Linked DNA regions of Homo sapiens: region 2 is linked to region 1. Evidence: promoter capture Hi-C in 16 types of primary human blood cells and fetal thymus (Javierre and others, 2016). All regions are on one chromosome and are shown on one strand. The core of a region is centred on a gene start or on the middle of the fragment in contact, and the rest is flanking DNA. Distances in the headings are between cores, read along the strand shown. Region 1 holds the start of PDCD10 (programmed cell death 10). Region 2 has its middle 3.9 kb from the start of NMD3.

What was found. Contacts are between HindIII fragments. The CHiCAGO score rates a contact against its expected background, and 5 or more counts as called.
Region 2: a contact is called between a fragment that was not itself captured here and the fragment with the promoter of PDCD10 in region 1, in 1 of 17 cell types (non-activated CD4 T cells). The highest score is 5.3, in non-activated CD4 T cells.

What each region holds. Positions count from the first base shown.
Region 1 is chr3:167,730,724-167,738,162 of GRCh38, forward strand. PDCD10 (programmed cell death 10) reads right to left here and starts at 4,169. Exons shown (of 9, transcript NM_007217.4): 1 at 3,939-4,169; 2 at 3,491-3,627. It overlaps SERPINI1 (serpin family I member 1), which reads left to right and starts at 4,998. Exons shown (of 9, transcript NM_001122752.2): 1 at 4,998-5,100. RefSeq lists a silencer at 3,801-3,930 and an enhancer at 3,981-4,420. The HindIII fragment of the contact is 6,113 bases long and covers 1-5,273 here.
Region 2 is chr3:161,213,730-161,221,168 of GRCh38, forward strand. It overlaps a transcript of NMD3 not described here. Among named protein-coding and RNA genes, the nearest start is that of NMD3, 3.9 kb to the right of the region's middle. RefSeq lists enhancers at 7,155-7,264, 7,324-7,439. The HindIII fragment of the contact is 5,309 bases long and covers 3,190-7,439 here.

The DNA.
Region 1 (7,439 bases), core at 2,919-5,418:
AGAACTTGTTTCCAAGACCAAAACCTAACACAATTTATCCCTAAAATTCAGTTTGTATGTTTTAAAAATAATCTTTTTATGCTTAAGTCTCCAGCTATAAAGCAAATAAGATTAGAAAAGTATTAGAAAAATTTTCAGGAAACCCAAAATATAAGTTCCTTTGAAACAAAAACTACTCAATTTTACAAAGCCACCTTGTCTAAATCAAGTGATATTAAAGGTATAATTCATAGGAAGATAGCAAGGTTAAAAAGCAAGAAACAAAACAAAAAAGCAAAGAAAAAGAAAAAATTATGGATTCTAGAATACGGAGATAGATCCAGATTCTAACCATGGTTCCAGTACCAACGTTCTGGAAACTCTAGCAATTTAATTAAACTTTTTTTAGTTTAATAAGTAAATTTACTTATTTTCTTGATGTCTTCAGCTATAAAACAGTATTAATACTACTACCTAGAGGAAATAAAGGTTTTTAGGGCAAAACGAGACAACATTAGGGAAGAAGAGTCCATTAGAAGTTTCTTCCATGTCTATATTTTGTTATAATGAATATCGCTTGCAAAAAGCAGGACAGTGATAAGTCTCTAAAATGCTGTGTTACACAGCAATTCTGCGGCAAATGAAAGTGATTCCTTTATCATTTCCACTTAGAAAATTAATCCTGATTTCAGAGACCTCCAAAAAGAACAAACATTTTTCCACAATTTATATTAAAATTCTGTCAATGACTCCTTTACATATAACCTAAATTGCCTAAGCATTATGGCTCATTTGAAAGTTCTTATATACTTCAATCCAGAAAGCATATCCGCTTTATTCATTTCTCTATTTCTGTCCCCAGAGAAGTGCTGGAAGCACTGTGCATGAATACACTCCTTCATTCATTCAGCAAATATTTACTGAACCCTTACAATGTGCCAGGTACTGCGTAAGTAGTGGGGTAAAACATGACAAATGAGAGGGCCCTGCTCAGGGAGCTTATAGTCCAGTGAGGAGACAGTATTTGTCAAATAAATACAGAAATAATTAAGTTTCTATTATGATGATGCCACAAAGGAGTACAGAGTATGGTGAATACATGGCGGAAACCTATTCTGATTTTGGGAAGGCGGGCAAGGCTCCCCTGACGAACGATATTTAAATTGAGACGTGAAAACTGACTACCAGGTGGCCACATTTAGGTAGGCGTGAGGGGAACAGTCCAAGGAGTGAGACGGAATATGTAAAGGCCACCAAGTCAGGAAGCAGCTTATGTATGTAGTAACTGAAAGGCATGGTAAATGAGAAAGGCTGGAGATAAGGACGGAGAGCTGGATAGGAGAAGAGATAAATTTTTAGTGTTAAACAGAGTAAGAAGGTAATAGTATTTGAATATTTAAGTCACGTTAAGTCTTCTTCTCATGTAAATAATCTAAGGGAACTAAGTCTTTACTCCAAAATATTAAAGATCTGTAGTCAGAAGATCTCGATTTTGTCTTACTCCCACCAGTTACAAGTCACTTAACCAACTTGAGCCTCTTCATTCTCTTTGTAAATATTATCTTACCTACTCAGACTACAATAATAAACAGCCCCTATTCTTACAGACCTTACATCCTTAAGAGAAACAGACAGATGTATAATATACGGAAGACATCCCAAGTCCTCTAAGAAATAATGTCCAAAAGCTGACATAAGGCTCCTGCAAAGTTCAAAATGAGAAGAAATGCAGACACTGGTGAGCTGCAAACCACGTGTACACATAACTCTGTGAACTCCTAATTATCCAACGTGCAGAGATCTAAAGTGACAACAGTACCGCAGCATGTGACTGAAAGATGATAACAACAATACAAACATTAATCCACCATCCGAATAGAAGAAATATCAAAACTATAATTGGCCTCAGAGATAAAGAGTAGTGGCAGAAATGAACCAAGAACAAAATCTAAAACACACTGAACAAATGCATTACATTAACTAATTTCCAAAATTTCCTCATAGTTCAAAAGCTCTTTCCATAATGACAGAGTTACATGCCAAAGGTTAGAACTTATTTCATACCTCCTTCAACAAAAGGCAAATACCTACATTGTCATCTAGAAAACAGATTAATATTCTTGCTTTACCATCACTGACTCATGTTCAGTTTACGGTCTACTTACATCACTGCACCTTTCTTAATCCAGCACAAAGTCAGTTATCACCACATAATTTTCCATTTGTTTAACTGGGTCTTCCTTGTCTGTGTACTACATTACTTATGGTACATTATTCCTGATTTTACTTCATTCTATAGTATCATACTTTTTCTATTTTAAAAATCGTATTAATTTCCAGACCATCTTAATTTCAACCATCAGGGAAGATAATACCTCTGTTCCGAAAAAATGTTTTTCCATTAAAAAGTGAAGCACATTGTTGATAATATAGTAACTGCAGAGTACATTCAAAATTCAGCATAGTCTGATGATCAACTTATATATAAAACAGTAAGCTATGATTTATTACATGTTAAGAGTAAGCCATGATTTATTACATGCTAACCTGTATGGATATAAAGTTATCACAAATAAATTCTGCCATCAATGAACATACTCTAACAATTCTATTAAAAACTTATCCAATAATAATAGTCATGAGCTATAACTGGTCATAATCATTATAGAGGATAAGACTTGCATAAAGGCACTACTTTCTGCAAGATATGAACTATACGTGTACTGTTTTTTCATTCTTCAATGTAAAGTAAGAATGAATTGAAAGTCACAGTTGATGCTAAGAAAAATAAAAATATGCAAGAGCCCAATTTTATTATTTGCAGACACACACACAAATACAGCCCAGAGTCAAGAAAATGGGGGAAAAGTAAAGTCTCAAAAAAGACGATGTTACCTCCAAGAAATGCAAAATACCTTCTTTTCTAGTAATGGGCACACTAAACTCTCCTAACGCTACATTATTTGAAAAAAGTGTAGTTTTGTGAAAGAATTCCAATCCCACTATTATCAGTTTTACAAAATGAGAGTAAAAACAGTCCTAAGGTAGAAAAAGAAAAGAATATTCTTCTAAGGATGGGATATATTGTTTAACTGTTGTTCTCCCATCCTATTACCTACCCGTAAAAATGAACTGTGAGAGTAGAGTCTATCATTTAATACACCCCTAAAAAAAGGGGAAAAATCTGTAAAAGTTGAAACTGGCCATTTTTATTTTTTCCAAAAGGATCTTTCCTTTATTGAGGAATTTCACTCCGGTTCAAGAAACAACTTTTTATCTCACAATGGCTTCTTAGATATACTATATAAAATACATTTACTTTGTAACTTCCTCCACCCTTTTCAAAAAGCACAACCAACGTCCCTACTCTAAAGCTGGACTCGAACCGAACTAGATTCAGAAAGTCTGTCCCTACGTGTGTGACCTTGGGCACGTCATATAATCCCTCGGTTTCCTCATCAGCATCCCAAAATGAAAGCGCTCTGAAAGCAGTAAAGGAGTAAAAACATACCTTAGGTATGACACCTAAGAGGGTCAAGTCTTTCTGTTTAAGGCAAAATTATCTCCTTAGAGGGCCACATCATTAAACTGGAACTGAATCCGTAGACCCCAACATTTGTCTCTTCCTTCTTCCAGTGCTCCTCTTCCCTCAAAGGGCATAACCCGAGTCACCCCCAAGAGCCGACTCCCAAGCACCCTTTCCTTCCTCCTCCCTTTTCTCTTACTTACAAAGCAGGGGGAAAACAGCAGCCTCACCTCTCGGTCCGAAGCCACACCTTCAAAGGACCCCACCCCAGGCACATCCGCCCTGTCCCCTCTCCCGGGGCACCAGGGGCCAACCTCGCCCTTCCCCTCCCGCCCCCACCTAGAGGAGACTTCCTGGAGGCGTTCGGGCCCAAGCCGGCAGGCGGCATTTACAAACCCGCTTTACGCCACTCGCGTAGGGTAACCTCGCTTACGCCCGTAGGGCCCCGCTCTCAGCCCCGTCCGCTCCGCCTGCCAGAACCAAGCCCAAGTGCCTCAGCCATGGCCCCTGCGTGACCCTAGACCTCTTCTGCTCGGTGCAGAGCTACGGGGACTGGGACAGAACAGCTACACCTTACCAGCAACTGAGGCACTGACTTCACTTCCCACCTTGCAGCCCTCTTCAACTCCCGGATCAATTCACTCCGGCGACGCCGGAAGGACCCAAGAGGAACCAGGCGTTGTCCGGAATCCTGCCCAGCCGGAGTCGTGCAGAGGCTTATGGGGACTCGTAGTCCCGCTCGCCGGCGTTGTCCGCAATTCCTGCAATCGGAAGACTACACTTCCCGGCAGGCCATGCGGGGGATCCTGAGGCGATGGGTGGTGACACTTCTAGCCAATAGTAGGAGAATTCCCTGCCTTTGCGGGAGGAGGTGAGATGAAGAGAGATGGTGCACGGAAAGGAGAGGAAGGGCGGGGCAAGCCCTCACCTGCGCCAATCAGGGTGCGGAGTAGGCCCCGCAGGCGCCTCACCCATTGAGGGGGCGGGCTGACAGAGCAGAGGAAGGAAGGGGGTGAGGGGCCTGTGGTGGGGATCCTGGGGCTGTCGGGCTGAGTATGCCGTGTGGGTGGAGAGGAAGCCTCGGGGAAATCGCCCAGGTGAAGGGAGGGCTTGGTGTGGGGACTTGCACTGGGCAGAGGGGCAGCTTCCCTGAGAGCAGCTAAGCCCCAGGCACACCGGGCATCCGGACACACAGGTCGGGGAAGGATAGGCTGAGCCGGGGCTCCCAGCAGAGACGCCTGGGTGGGGCAGGAGGCCGCTCCAGGTGTGAGCCACAGAGGAGGGGAGAGGGACCCCCACGGGAGTGGAAGTGGCAGAGCAGCTGCAGAAGTGCAGGGAGCGGAAAGGTACCAGGGCAGCTGCTTTCCGCTGCCTCCGGTCCGGGCAGCTGCAGAAACAGCAGGGGGAGGAGCAACAGCTGCCAAATTCGCCAACTAGAGGAGGGAGAGGCGGAGCTTGGGTCCCTGTAGAAGCCAGAGGCGCAGTCTGGACTGTAGTTTCCCGGGAGAGACGAAAGCAGGAACGAGAGCGGAGCGGAGCACAGTCCGCCGAGCACAAGCTCCAGCATCCCGTCAGGGGTTGCAGGTGTGTGGGAGGTAAGCGTGGGTCCTTCTTCGGGGCGTCTGCACTGCCCTGGAGAAAACGTCTTCCAATAGGAATTACATCAAGACACAGCTAAAAGAGTCCGCGTTGGGTTAGGAAACCGGTGCAAAACCTCTCGGGTGAAAGATTTACATTTTTCGACTTTAAGGGCAAAAAAGCAAAAGGAAGCTTGACTCTGGGTATAAAGGGCGTGGTTAGTGTTTTTGGTTTGAGTTGCACCAGTAAAACTGTTCTGGGAGATCTGAAGATTGAGAAAAATCCTGCTAATTGAGGACGAGGTGGATGTTATCTGGTGGATGTTATAGGTGCGTAGCCTATAAAAAGCAAAAATTTTGCTATTGATATAGAATAACTTCTGAACTATTTCACTAGGAAAATAACTTTGCATTCTTCTTCAGTGTCTACCCTTTACGTTGGTTTATCAGATTGTCCTGCTACCGACCTGTTATCCAGGGTGGTTATTTTGCAGTTTCCTAGAATTGCAAGAAATCCGTATTAAAGAAGCAAGTGCAGGCAGGAATAGTCAGGATAGGATGGGCTCTGACTTAATCTATCAAAAGTATAACTTTTGCCAGCAATAATGTAAAAATGAATTTTAATGAATGGATAGTTAGCTTTCTTCCCAGTGGCTCTGGAATATTGGAACAAAGACCTGGATTCAGCCTACAATGGAAACATATGGTGTACCTCACTGCTGCTCGTTAGTTTCTCATTTGTGTCCGATAATATGTGTACATTTTAAAAACGAGTACATGGAAAGCTGTGTGGGAATCTTTTCTCTGGGTAGAGAGTATGTGCTGAAGGACTACCCTTAATATGTGTTATGATAGTGGGTTCAGTTTAAAACACATGTAGTGTCATAAAATAATAGTTTATTCTCGGTATTAAACTATATGTGCATTCAAAGCAACGTTAATTGTAATACCTATGGATGGAAATAAGTTGTAATGCTGGGTAAAGATGAAAGTCTCACCTACCTTTGTGTAATTATGACAAAATTACAGCCTTTTATTTTTAGAGAAGTAGTAAGAAGCTATTTTCCTAGTTCATTTTCATTTTGTTACAGAGGTTCCCAGATTACATGGCTTTTAATCATAGTAGCATATTGCAGCAAATTTTGCTCTGAAATGCTTTCATTGTGACAGTTGCATATTTCAGAGTCTGTCTCAATACTTTATGTTTTTTTTTAATAACCAGGGTCAATAAAATGGAGTAATTGTCTTGTTTTCTCCTATTTCTATGCTTTCCTGAGTTCTCGGGATTTTAAATTTTATTTTTGTAATGCATCCCAAATTTCTTTTTGAAAAGAAATGGCTCAAATGAATTCTCTTCCCAGATTAAAGTTCAGTCCTACTGAGTGCTACTACCGATAAGCCTAAGTGACTTTTCAGTGTGTATACTCTTCCCTCCCACACTCTCACATACCATAGAAATATATAGACAGATAGATCATAGAAAAACAGCTGCTTTTTAATTACCCCTAAGCAAATCAGCTAAGTATCAAAAACAGCAAAGAGCTTAGAAGAAAGAAAAAGCAACAGTAGCTGCTAAACTTAACCACTATAAGGATCAGGTTTTATCTTTGCTACAGCACTGGAGAATCTATTAATTCACATAGCTGATATGGCCCTGTGAAAATGATTTTGGGGGTAAAAAAAAAAGTGGGTATTAGGGTGACACATGGAAAAGACTGTGTTTGCCCTTGTTATTTGTGATTAAGTGGATTGTCTTGAATCAGTCTTAGATTCTTTCTCAGACCCTACTACTAATTCATTTTGTAAAACTGAATAATTGCTGTCGCTGGGTTATTTCCCCTATGTAATAATTATAATACTACCAATGAAATTCTTTCCGAGCCTTTATTAAAAGATCTGTTTGAAAGAGTTTTATTGGGAAACAGTTAATAAGCAAGCAAATGGATAGAAGATAAATATCTAAACAGTTGAAATTAAGATATACTTTGAATCTCAGCTCTTTATAGGTCTTCTGCTCTGAGACACGGTAAAGGATAGAATCTGATTAGGAATGAATGAGTTTGTGGTATTAAAGTACTGATTTTTTTCACCTGTTTCCAAGATTTGGATCCTTTTTACTGTGTCAGTAAAAGAGATTGGGTTTCAATATCATTTGAAAAAAGACCATGTTTTTATATGAGAGAATATCATTGGAAATATATGGCATTTATTTTTTACCTTGCACTCTTGATTCATGTTAGTTAATATTCACATTCAATCTCAGGTAATCTGAAGATTTTTCTTGATTGGTGTTGAAAACGTTCGTTATATGGCAGTTTATAATTCTGTGTAAAATGCTACCCATGTTATAAGCATAT
Region 2 (7,439 bases), core at 4,594-7,093, 6.5 Mb before region 1:
GGTATTGCATGCCCGTAGTTCCAGCTACTTGGGAGGACTAGGTGGGAGAGTCACTTGAGCCCAGGAGGTGAGGTTGTAGTGAGCAGAGATTGCATTCCTGCACTCCAGTATGGGCGACAGAGTGAGGACTTGCCTAAACAAACAAACAAACAAACAAAAGAATTCGTGGTAGGGATGTACTGCAGTTTGTTTAACCATTCACCCACTGAAGGATATCTGAGTTGTTTCCAAGTTGTTTCCAGCTTTTGACTATAATGGATAAAGCTGCCACCCTCTTCATGTACAGTTTTTTATGTGCAAGTTTTCATTTCACTGGGATAAATACCTAGGGGTATAATTGCTAGGTCATATGGTAGTTGCATGTTTAATTTTATAAGAAACTGCCAAATTTTTTCTAGAGTTGCTCTACCATTTTACATTTTTGCCAGCAGTGAATGAGTGATCCAGTTCTCTGTATTCTTGCCATTTGGTGTTATCAGTATTTTTTATTTTAGCCATTCCAATAGAGGCAGTGATATTTTATTGTGTTTTTAATCTGTATACCTCTCATGACTAATATTGTTGAACATCTTCATGTATGCTTGACTTCTATATACATTCTTCAGTGGAATGTTGTCATATCTTTTGCCAATTTTCTAATTGGGCTGCTTGATTTTCTGTTAAATTTTGAGAGTTCTTTATATCTATTTTATTAATAGATACTAGTTCTTTGTTGAATACAGTTTGCACATATTTCTGCTACTCTTTGGCTTGTCTTTTTATCTTCTTAACAGGGCCTTTAACAGAGCAAAAGTTTTTAATTTTAATGAACTCCAACTTGTCAGTTTTTCTTTTGTGGATCTTGTTTCCGAAGTCAGGGCTTAGCACTCTTTGCCTAGTTCTAGATTGTAAAAATGTTCTTTTTTTTTTCTAAAAGTTTTCTAGTTTTACATTTTGCTTTAAATTCATGATCCATTTTGAGTTAATTTTTATCTAAGATGTGAGACTTAGGTTGAAGTTTATTATTTTCCCTCTGTATGTCCACTGGCTATAGTTGAAAAGGCTATCTTTACTGACTTGGCTTGGCAGTTTTGTCAAAATCCATTGAACACTGGTTTGGAGGGTCTTTTTCTGGGTTCCCTATTCTCTTCCACTGATGTGTGTCTATCCTTTCACCAATTCCAAACAATCTTGATTACTGTAGTCCCATAATAAGTCTTAAAACTAAGTTGAATAATTTTTCCCACTTTTTTTTAAAATTGTTTTAGGTGTTCTAGTTCCATTACTTTCCCATATAAATTTTAGAATAATCTTCTGTACATTTACAAAAAACTCTTGCTAGAATTTTGATAGGAATTGCATTAAAATGACATCAAATTTAGGAGAATTGACATCTGTGATGGTTGATATTAGGTATGAACTTGATTGGATGGAAGGATGTGTAGATGGCTGGTGAAGTATTGCTTCTGGGTGTGTCTGTGAGGGTGTTGTCAGAAGAGACTGACATTTGAGTCAGTGGCCTGGGAGAGGGGAAGAACAACCTTCAGAGTGGGTAGGAACCATGCAATCTGCTGCCAGTGGCTGGAACATAGACAGAAGAAGAGGGATGAGTAGCTCGCTTGCTGAGTCTGCTTGGGCTCTCTCTCTCCCGCTGTGTGGTGCTGGACACTTGACTTCCTCTCCTCCTGCCCTTGGACATCAGACTCAACCTTCGGACTCTGAGACTTGCATAACAAGTGTCATTATAATCCTCCAGCATGAATGTCAACACAGACCTTAACTCTGATAAGAAACATGTACAATCTATTCTCTCTAAAGCCTGCTACTTGGACGCCTCATCTCCCTGGTAAAACCTAGGTCTCCACAACACCTTATTGTAATCCAGATATTCCTTTCTATTGATAAAAACTTTTTCAACCAATTGCCAATCAGAATATGTTTAAATCTACCTATGACCTGGAACCCCCCGCCACTGCCACCACCCTGCTCCCCACGACCTCTCTTCAAGTTGTCCTGCCTTACCAAATGGAACCAATGTAAATCTCACATGTGTTGATTGATGTATTATGTTTTTCTAAAATGTATAAAAGCAAGCTGTTCACCTTGTGAACATGTCGTCAGGACTTCCTGAGGCTGTGTCATAGGTGCGTCCTTAACCTTGGCAAAATAAACTTTCTAAATTGAGACTTGTCTCAGATACTTTTTGGTTTAAAACTTACTGATTGAGAATCCAAAATCTGAAAACCCCAAATCTGAAATGCTTCAATGAGCATTTCCTTTGAGTGTCATGTTAGTGTTCAAAAAATTTCAGATTTTGAAGCATATTGGATTTTGGATTTTTGGATTATGGATTAGGGATACTCAACCTATACATAGTGTTATTCTCCCCCATCACTAACATGTAAAAGTTAGAGGTTGTTCAGTGATTACATCTTTTAAAAATTATAATAAAATATTATAAATTCAGTCTCATATTTTGGAATTTGTAATAATGGAGAAATTGTACAAGTATTATTATCGTAATTTTATTTCATCTTTTCTATTGTATTTGCTGGGATTCTATGTTAACATATTATTTGTACTTTTAAAACTTTTTGTTGAAGGAAATACACAGGCAGAAATAGGCACAGATTATAATGTATAGCTGAATGAATCTGTTACAGTGGTAATTAGGCAAGAGCTGGACAGGAGAGGGCTTCCCCTACCCACCAGGAATGTCAGGCAACCATCAGGTGATGGTCTGGCAGTTGTCACATCACCTTTCTAAAAATAATAATTGGTTGCAGGCACCAGGGAGAGGCAATTTCCCAATGGATAAAAACACTTGAAATTGGTAATCAACAACTTCCAATAAAATCTCAGGAATTGGGCGAGTGGGCTTGAGTATGTACATTGAAAGGTAAAATGGCAGACTTTAACTGGTTATATGACCTTCCGGGAGCATTCCACCGGAAAAGGGAAAAAAGCCTCAGGTGGCCATGCATACAACTTCTTAAACACACTGCACCTGCTCATCTCTCAAGCGCAAGGACAGCATCATGCATGTGGGCTGCCCACTCTAAGGGAAGAATCATGAAAAAAGGAATGCGGAGACACCCGAAATATGCCAACATATAAAACCCCAAGTCAAAAGGTCAAACACCACATTTGACCTCCACAGTTCTTGCCTGGGTCTCTTCCAAGTGTACTTTCCTTTCTTTCCTGCTCTAAAGCTTTAAAATAAACTTCTACTCCTGCTCTGAAACTTGCTTCAGTCTCTTTTTCTGCCTTATGCCCCTCAGTCAAATTCTTTCTGCCGAGAAGGCAAGAATTGAGGTTGCTGCAGACCTGTATCTATTTGCCACCAGTAACTCAGATATTCACTACCCCTAACAAATTTTACAAAGTGAACACTAAATTTTTATTTCATTTACTAAATGATGTCTTTATATTGTAAATTAAGGGTGAAGCAGAATCGCAGGTGTAATGTTTCAAATTTGATACATTGGCTGTTTCAGATACAAACCATTTCTTATTGCTTCACTCAATTCCTATTAAGGATCTTCACCAGAGAATAACAGGGCCTACAATCATTATAGTATTTTGCAGTTTACTAAACACTTCTATGTACCTTATCTCAGTCAATTCTCATAACAATTTTCTGAGGTAGGGATTATTACATAGTTTTAGAAAGGAGGAAAGGAGCTTTTAGAAAGGCTCAGAGTGGTAAAGCAAATCCTTAGGGTCACAGAATCTATCAGTCACAAATCTCAGACTTGAAACAAGGACTTTAGAGTCCATGTCTTCCACCGACTCTCCTAGGCATACTGCTTTCTACATGGCGCATGCTGTGGCTGTGAGGTACTGCCCAGATCCCCCTCAAGGAATGAAGTACTTATCCCACAACAGCAGGGAGTGCTGCTGGCAGAAAGCCCTCAGTTTCATCTACTTCTGGGACTGCCTTGGCTGAAGAGAGAAATATCACCCAATGCTATGTCCTTTTCCTGGGACAGTCACATCCAATGACTCATCGATGAGCAAAGTCCCCCTCGGGAAAACTCAGAATGGTCATTTCAGCTTCAGAGCTTCCCACAGGGTTAGCTGAGGCTTCCACTAGACTGCACGGCAGCACAGCTCCCTTCTGCCCAATGGTGCTTCTGCCCTTCTATTCCACAGGTGTTGATTCTAAGAGGATACCCTAATACACCTCCCCTGCACTAATCTCCAATATTATCTTGATATCCCCAAATGTGCTATCACATTTGATAGTGTGAAAAATATCACAGTATGCATTTGAAAGTTCTGTGTAGAATTTCATTATTTCATTGATTAGCAGATTTTTTTTTTTTTTTTTGAGACAGGGTCTCCCTTTTTCACCCAGGCTGGAGTGCAGTAGTGCAATCTTGGCTCACTGTAGCCTTGACCTCCTAAGCTCAAGTGATCCTTCTGCCTCAGTGTCCTGAGTAGCTACGACTACAGGTGCATACCACCATGCCTGGCTAATTTGATTGTTTTATATTTATTTTTTATTTTTTAGAGGTGGGGGTCTCAACATGTTGTCCAGGATAACCTGGCCTCAGTCGATCCTCCCACCTTGGCCATCCAAAGTGTTGGGATTACAGGCATGAGCCATTATGTTCGGCCAGGAATTCCATTTTAATACCATGGTTAAACACATAGAAATGAAGTTTGTAAACATATACTAAGGCTTAGATTTGAATACAGATAGATATCCTCAGTGCAAGGACTATGGGAGCTGAAAATAATCTCACCTATTATTTTCAGGTGAGATTTGAGGTTAAATAAAAAGTGCAAAGTGAGTTTCCCTCTGGTATTGTTTGCCAATATTATCCCACTCAGTCCAATCCTAGCAAGCTCATTCAGGCTCATGAGAGAGGTAGTTGAAATCAAGAACTTACTTTTGACATCTGGAAATCTTAGTGGTGGGGGCTGGCAGATGAAGAGAGAAATATAGGTGCCTTCTACTACAGAAGTATTTCATTTATCAAAAGGTTGTGGATAGGAATAGACGGCCTCAGCCTCAGAAGGGGAGGTAGGCTGCTATGGTGAGGGTCTGGGTTCAGAAACAAACTGTATTTCACGTCCCAGTTCTATCAATTATTTGCTATAGGACTTTCAACAAATTGCCTAATCTAATCCAGCCTCATCTGTAATATGTAAGGTCCATGAGGGCAGGGACCATATCTGTGCTGTTATTATCATACATCAAGTGCTTAAGAAGCCTGGTATTCAGAGCCAAATCAAATAATTGTAGAAGGAATGTGTTAAAAAATGAGCAGCCTTTGACATTTAGAAGCTGGTCTGGTACTTGCAGCTATGCCATAATATTTTCCTATTAGACAGAAATAATTTCACAGAATACTAAACTCAGACAAGATTACTCTGAAACCATGATAAAATGAGGCAAAGAAGGTCACTTCATAATTTTGTCTAAGCACAGACCAAAATAAGTTCACTATGCCACCCACAAAATACCAAACATTCCCTTTCTTCACCAAAATGAGTGACTGCTACTTCTTTGCTAATTGCAGCTTTATCCTCCTGCTTCCCTTTGTGTAAATAAGATTTACTGAGACATCCAATCACAGAATTGCCCCTGCTTTCTGACAGCATCCAATCTATAGAAAAACCTCTATTTTCTTAGGGCCTCCCCGAAAACACCCGCCCAAAGCCCCAATCCTATGATAGGTTTGTTCTAAACACCCTCTTACTGAGATACCCAAAGGGTATCCATGGTGAGTGTCTGGGCTCACTTCGAAGAGTAATAAATAGACAGAAGCTGCTTAACTACAGCTGTGTTCCTAGTGGTGTTTGGTTGAGGGCATAGGCAGTGTGAATAGAAAAAACGGGGAGAAAAACACTGTCTCTTCAGAGTTGTGGTGGGTATTAAATGGATAATTAATTTACCAATATATATTGAGGGTCTGTTTTGTGTCAGCTGCTGTGCTAGGTGCACCAAGAAGAACAAGACCCGAATTGCTCTCCAGGGTTTTGAAACTGCTGGGCATGCAGAGTAGAAAATTTATGATCCAATTCAAAGCACTATTATAGAGGCATATACCTCGTATAAAGGTGTTATCATAGAACCATATATACAGAAGGAGCATGTAACTCCTCTGGCCCTTAGGGACCGAAGGAGTCAGAAAAGAGAGGATGTATGGTGGACAGGATAATGGCTCTGCAAAGATGTCCTATTCCCTGAAATCTGTGAATATATTACCTAACATGGCAAACGAACTTTACAGATGTGATTAAATTTCTTGAGATGGAGAGATTATTCTGGATTATTTGGTTGGGCCCAGTGAAATCACAAGTGTCCTTGTAAGAGGGGTGCGGGGGGGTGGGGGTGAGAAAAGGAGACTCTGACTGCAAAATGATGTGGGACCACAAGCCAAGGAATGTGGGCAGCGTGTAGAAGTTGGAAAGGGCCAGGGAATGGATTTTCTCCTGGAGCCTCCAGAGTCAGCCCTCACCATCTATTTAGACCTGTAGCTTCCAGAACTGGAAGAGAACAAATTTGTGTTTTCTAAGCCAACTAAATCAGTGATAATTTGTTAGAGCAGCACTAGGAAACTAATTCAGGCTTAATCTTTAGTGCCGAGTCCCGGGTAGAAGCAAAGGAAGACTATTTTCTGTGAGGACCTGCCAGTTGGTCTTCATGGCTTGCGAGTACGTGTGCTTGGGAGTAGGACAGGATATGTGGAGATCAGATCCTGAAAGGTCTTCTTTCCACACAAAGAAACTGGAAATAATGCTGAAGGTAATCAGAGGCCACTGAAGGATTAAAAGCAGGGGAGTGTGACAAAATCAGAACTGCATTTCAGAAGGATGAATTGAAGTCTACAAGTAGAGACAACAGACGAGAGGCTACTTAAGTATTCTGGGCAAGAAATGATGAGAGGCTGTCTCTGATCACCCTCTACAAAACGCCTTTGCTTATTCCTTGAAATTTGGGATGAGAGGATTTAGAAAAAAAAATGGTTGTACTCTTCAAATATTTGAAAGGCTGTCATGAGACAGATTAGACACGGTCTGTGCTGCTCCAAGTTTGAGGGATAAATCAGTCATAAGAAGATATTAAATGCACTATCCGGAAGCACATAATTAATAATTTGTCTAAAAATCGCATAGACTTCTTCACAGATAATTATGCTTTACATTTCATTCTTTCAACAAATAATCATTTGAGCAGTTAGCATGTGGCAGGCATCAGGCCTGTATATGACGGTGAACCAAACAGACAAAAGGCACTGCCCTGGATGGAGTTTCTTTGCATAAGGTACCGTTTACAGATAACTTTTATATAAAATAATCATTTAATCAAGAAGCAAGCTCACAGTCGGGATAGCTGAAAAGAGACTAATATACGGGCGAGGTTGGTTTGGAGTAAACCCTGGCCTGGGAAAATCGAGACGATAACTGAAAAGCAGTCACTGACGGCAAATGAGCCCCTGGGACTT